Regions from separate parts of the Homo sapiens genome. Here region 1 is linked to region 2. Evidence: promoter capture Hi-C in 16 types of primary human blood cells and fetal thymus (Javierre and others, 2016). All regions are on one chromosome and are shown on one strand. The core of a region is centred on a gene start or on the middle of the fragment in contact, and the rest is flanking DNA. Distances in the headings are between cores, read along the strand shown.

What was found. Contacts are between HindIII fragments. The CHiCAGO score rates a contact against its expected background, and 5 or more counts as called.
Region 1: a contact is called between a fragment that was not itself captured here and the fragment with the promoter of PREX2 in region 2, in 1 of 17 cell types (M2 macrophages). The highest score is 5.4, in M2 macrophages.

The regions. Positions count from the first base shown.
Region 1 is chr8:68,484,027-68,486,726 of GRCh38, forward strand. All of the region lies in intron 4 of C8orf34 (chromosome 8 open reading frame 34), which reads left to right. Among named protein-coding and RNA genes, the nearest start is that of C8orf34-AS1, 150 kb to the left of the region's middle. The HindIII fragment of the contact is 1,052 bases long and covers 753-1,804 here.
Region 2 is chr8:67,950,535-67,953,485 of GRCh38, forward strand. It overlaps PREX2 (phosphatidylinositol-3,4,5-trisphosphate dependent Rac exchange factor 2), which reads left to right and starts at 1,512. Exons shown (of 40, transcript NM_024870.4): 1 at 1,512-2,001. The coding sequence starts at 1,861. The HindIII fragment of the contact is 877 bases long and covers 1,512-2,388 here.

The sequences.
Region 1 (2,700 bases), core at 29-2,528, 530 kb after region 2:
ATTGGCTTATGGTTTTGCAGGCTGTACAGGAAGCATAAAACCAGCATCTGCCTTTGGGGAGGCCTCTGGAGGCTTACAATCATGGCACAAGGCCAAGCAGGAACTAGCAGTCAAATGGCGAAAGCAAAAGCAAGAGCAAGGTTGGGGAAGGTGCTACACATTTTCTATACATTTTCAAAGGACCACATCATTTGAGAACTCACTCACTATCATGAGAGCGGCAACAAAGACATGGTACTGGACCATTCATGAGAAATCCACCCCCATGATCCAGTCACCTCCCACCAGCCCTCACCTCTAACATTGGGGATTACAATTCAACATGAGATTTGGGCAGGACACAAATCCAAACTATATCACCCTGATAGGATATTTCCTTTAAGCTCTAGTTTGACTTTTACAAGGACCATGTGTTCCAGTGCTCATTAAGAGTCCTACCCTCAAGTCCTGGGCTTTTCTTTCTTCCAACATATCTTCGCAACCCACTTCATTTTCTCTTGCATATTTTCTGTTTTCTGAAGATCCCCAGTCTTCATTAACTTAAAAAAGAGTCTCAATTTAAAATATGATACCTTTTAAAAGTTAATAAAATGCCTAAAAGTTGTTAATCTCTTCTCAGGGAATAGCTGTGGATATTCTGCTAGACACTGGGAGAGATATCCTGGCCACTCAGTATAAATGGTTCCCATTAGAGCTTCATGCCTCTGTGAAGCGTTTCATTAAAATTCTTTCATCTGCTTTTAATCTGTATAAGCTTTGATTAAAAATGAAATAAGAAGTTAAAAAAAATGCCCTAGGCAATTTGACATTGATAATAGAAAGCTGAAAGAATTACAGATAATAGAGTGGAGATTTATTTGGATAATTTCTCAGGCAAAGTCATCAAAATATGTAAATTTTAAGAAAATATGATAATAAGTATTTGAACAAAATATGGTCAGACCAAAGAGTTGGCATAATTAAAGGCATAATTCTTTCTCCAAACCAAGTTTTCCATTTAGCTAGTTTGAGTTGTATTCTGGGGTCCATTACTTCTTAGTACTGAAATACATCTTCAAAGCAATGTTTCTCTTCATCTCCATTTTCAACTGCTAAAATTTTCCAGCCCTGAAAAACAGCTCATATGTTTGCTAAAATTGAGAGGAGGTAGCCCATGAGTAATGTGCCAGTTCTGTGTGACACACATTTTGACTATTCACAGGGCTTTTTTACTTACTTGCCAGTTCTTGCTTCTTTCTGGAACAGTGATATATTGCCACTATCTTTATGAATAATGGATTCATAAATATGAGGCCTAAAAGAAACTTAAAGATCAACTGGTAGCTTTCTAAAAGTTAAATGAGAAAACTCGTTTTGTAAGCCCGAGAGCATGATGCAGGAAGTTAAAAAAAAAATTAAGAGATCGGGCCAGGTGCAGTGACTCACCGCTATAATCCCAGCACTTTGGGAGGCCCAGGCAGGCGGATCACGAGGTCAGGAGTTTGAGACCAGCCTGGTCAACATGGTGAAACCCCGTCTCTACTAAAAATACAAAAATTAGCTGGGCATGGTGGCGGGTGCCTGTAATCCCAGCTACTCATGAGGCTGAGGCAGGAGAATCGTTTGAACCCAGGAGGTGGGGGTTGCAGTGAGCCGAGATCCAGCCATTGTACTCCAGCCTAGGAGACAAGGCAAGACTCTGTCTCAAAAAAAAATAAAAAATAAATAAATAAATAAATAAATAAATAAAAATAAATCAAGAGGTTAAGAGAGTTTAAAAAATCCCAAATAATTGAATTATGGATTATTTAATTTCAGATATCTAAGCTTTATGACTTTGGGTGAGAAACAGAATTCTGTTTCATATTATCTATGCTCTCTTAAAATAGACTAAGCTCTTTAAAATTTTATATTTAAGATATTCAGTCTTAATCTTGAATTCATATTGGAAAGGAACTTTTTTTGTAGAATTATATTACATGTAAATATAAGCATTTAAAAGACATGTTTGGATTTTTATAAATTGTAATAATGTATTTTAAATCTATAGAATGTGACATAAGCCATTTAGTATCCCATAAATGTCCTATCTTTTCTTAACATCTGAGTTATTCTAAATGACCATTTGTAATTCTCTATATTTTTTAAGCCCAAAAATTCCACAAATGTATGATTTATGTTAGGTCTTCACAAATGTTTATAATTGCACTCTGAGATCTCTTAGTCTCACATCTTCCCCTTGACTGTGGTGCTGTCATATCTGAGTTCTCCATCACGGTTCACTCAGCAGTGATACAGCCCAGCTCCAATGCCAGCCCTCCTTAAAGCTTTTTCTCCTTTAACTGTTTGAAGGCACTACCTTCATAATACAGCAAGTCCTTGAATAATTGTTAAGCTTTGGTCACCCCAAATCCCTGAAATGGTAGTTAGACTCTCTTTTGATGTGACACATAAAAATTCTTAGTTACCAATGACTTCTACCAAAAAAAGAATTTTATAAAATATTGAAGAATAAGCCCCAAATGTACCTGTGTTTCTAGTGTCATCTACAAGGGGATCTACAATGGTGTCATTTACTGAGATGAAGTTGTGCGTACTTTTTCAGCTTTGTGTATAATTGATTCATTAGGTTAGTGGTGTGGGAGATGATATAAGAACTAATGAAATATCATTTATACCCTCCACATCTATACCCGAGGCAGGCAGGGGATCTGAACCCTG
Region 2 (2,951 bases), core at 262-2,761:
TTATTTGCTTTTTTCCCTAGGGAAAGGTGCAGACCTGGGGAGGAAGAAATGCTGCCTGTAGTACATGGGGAGAAGGTTCAGTCATGCTTGCATTTCCCATTCATTTCTGGATGTGTGCTTCCTATGTCTTCCGCTTCTTTTGTTTATTGTTTACTAGGTGCTGTGAGGTCTGCTCTTTAATATGCTTTGCCCTTTGTTCTTCTGCCACAGGGTGTGAAGCCATCTATGTTGTTTGCCCTTTGCTCTTGGCTACCTCTAAATAGTCATTTGTAAAAGAAAGAGGAAAATCACATCTTGCCCATCAGCTTTGTGTACATCATTCGAAAATTTTATCTTTAATATACAAAGAAAGTACAATCCTTCTTTGTGTGGTTACAGAGGGGAATGGTCACACTATGCTCTGGAAAGACATCATCTGGAAAACCAATAGGTAATTATTTTAATGTAAATATAGTGAAAAGCATCTTTATGTTTTAGAGTTTTGCTAATGCTTTCAGTGACTGCAACAAATTAACATACCACTTTCTTGCAACAACTCTATTCACTCTTCAGTTTATTTAAATGCCATTAGTTTTAGACTGAAGTTGATCTGTGGAAAATATATGTGTATAATACCAATTCAAAAAAATATATAAATTGTTTTGTTTGTTAAATGTATTGGAAATATTTAAGGCTTAGTTTCCAAGTGAGAAAAGGCAATAAACTTTAACTTTAAAATCAAGAATGTTCTGTGTGTCTATCTTCAAAAATCTAAGATTATTTCCGTTATCTATCTAGCTTTCTATCTTCTGATGAGCATTCAACAACAGCTTTATCTTTTCAATTAGTGACACCGTCTTAAATCACAGCAGCTCTTAGAAACAAAACTGGCACAAATACCCTCGCCTCTCAATGGATTTACATACTATCTTGATGTTGAAAAAAGTTGTAGACATGGAAAACAGCACAGTACAAGGGTGATGCTTATTTTATCTGGGGTTTATTGCATGGGCAGAGGCTGTCATTTTCCCATAGTGTCTTCATTTATTATGCTAATTGACTTTCCAAGCTCAGACTGGAGGGTGTCTGCCCTGTGAACTATTCTCAGTTGGAGGGTTTTAAAAGCAAACCTGTTTTGTGCCTGAATGAAACAAAAAATCAATGTGTTTCTTTTCAAAGAGGGAGGGTCAATACCGTGGTTGTTTTTGTTCCCATCCAGTTATGTAACCGTGGGGACTTGTTTCTTTGCTTTCAGGATTTGTACGAAACACATTAAAGTTAAACAATAGCGGAGGCTTAGGAGTAACCCTCGAGCTGCGCCTTGGAGTGTGTGTCCCTGGGATTGGGAACCTCCTGTGAGTTCCATATCAAGTGCTGCTGTGTGTGTGTGTGTGTGTGTGTGTGCGTGTGTGTGTGTGTGTGCGCGCGCGCGCGTGTGTGTGATTAGCCAGTACGCAGTACTTCCCCAGGGTTGTGTTTCCTTTTTCCTGAGATTTGGCGAAGGGTAAAGGGTCGGAGTCACATGGATACAAAGCTTTTGATTAATGTCCAAGTCACTGCTGTGGCTGCCGAAGCCGCTTCCCCTCCAGCCCCGGCCGTGTGAGGCCAGAGCAGCGGGGCCGGGCGCGCAGGGCCTGGCCGGAGCCCCCACTCCCAGGAGTTTCCTCTGCAGAGCCCCGCGCCCCCCGCGCCGGGATTTCAGCCCGATCCCCTCCTCTCCCTGCGCCCAGCCTCTCCCCAGCATGTAAAGTCTTCTGTCTCTCCTCGGAGTTGGCGGAGGCGGCAACTTTCCATTCTCGCCGCCGGGGGCCGGGCAGCAGCGGGCGCGCGGGTCAGCGCTCAGCACGGCGGGCAGCGCCGCGCTGCGCACCGCCGCCGACCATGAGCGAGGACAGCCGCGGAGACAGCCGCGCCGAGAGCGCCAAGGACCTGGAGAAGCAGCTTCGCCTGCGCGTGTGCGTGCTCAGCGAGCTCCAGAAGACCGAGCGGGACTATGTGGGCACGCTGGAGTTCCTGGTGTCGGTGAGTGTCCCCGGCAGACGCAGGGGGACGTCCGGGCGGCGCGGGGCGCGGGTCCCGGAGTGGCTGCGGGAAGGACGCGCGGCATTGTCTGTGCGGGGACCCGGGACGGGTCGGGGCATCACAGGCGCGGGAATCCACGTGTGGACTCTGCGTTCGCGGGCGCGGTGACCCCCGCGGGGATTTGTTGGTGCCCCGAGACTCACTGAGTTGCGGGGGCCTTGGAGACCTCCAGGTCTGAAAAGTTAGCTCTAGAGAAGAGAGCTCCAGTCCAGGGAATCCCGGCTGCCCTATCTTCCCTCACTTTTCTTTTACCCGCCTCCCCAGTCTGCTCAAGTGCACTGTGTAATTGATTTTCCTTCTTGTTCTTTCCTGGAGACTTTGTTTTAAAGCTTTGGTTTTGTGATTAAAGGTCCAGTCGGCTACATCCAGGTACACTAAGTTAAAAAAAATCCTTGAATGTGCTCGAGCTTGAGTTCGTTACTCAGATAACATGGCAGTGGCCGCTTTAGTTATGGTCTTTGAGACAGAGGATTCTGGTGTAGGGGTACAGAGAGAGCAGCGGGGTGATGATCTCTAGCAGCTGTTGGATATTAAAGCCACATGTGGCGCTCACCCTGTCCTAGTCTTACAATTCCCTCCCCCCCGCCCCCCGCCCCGGCTTAAATCTGTCTTCTGCTCAGTTTCTGGTCCCCTGTTTACATGGCCCATGAGAGTGCTGTAATCAAGCTTCGGGACTTCGTGGAAGTGGGGATGTACTTATATTCCACGTTTCTGCTTGACTCACTGCCATCTGCTTTGAAAACGTCTCATTCATTTTAGGGCCGAAGGGGCAAAACTGAGTGAAAGTAACTGCTGAGATAACACTCAAAAGTTGAATTTTTCCTATTCATTGCTGAAAAGACAAAGAATTTGAGCCTTGGCTTCTTTCCACCCAGATTCCTGGGAGAGCA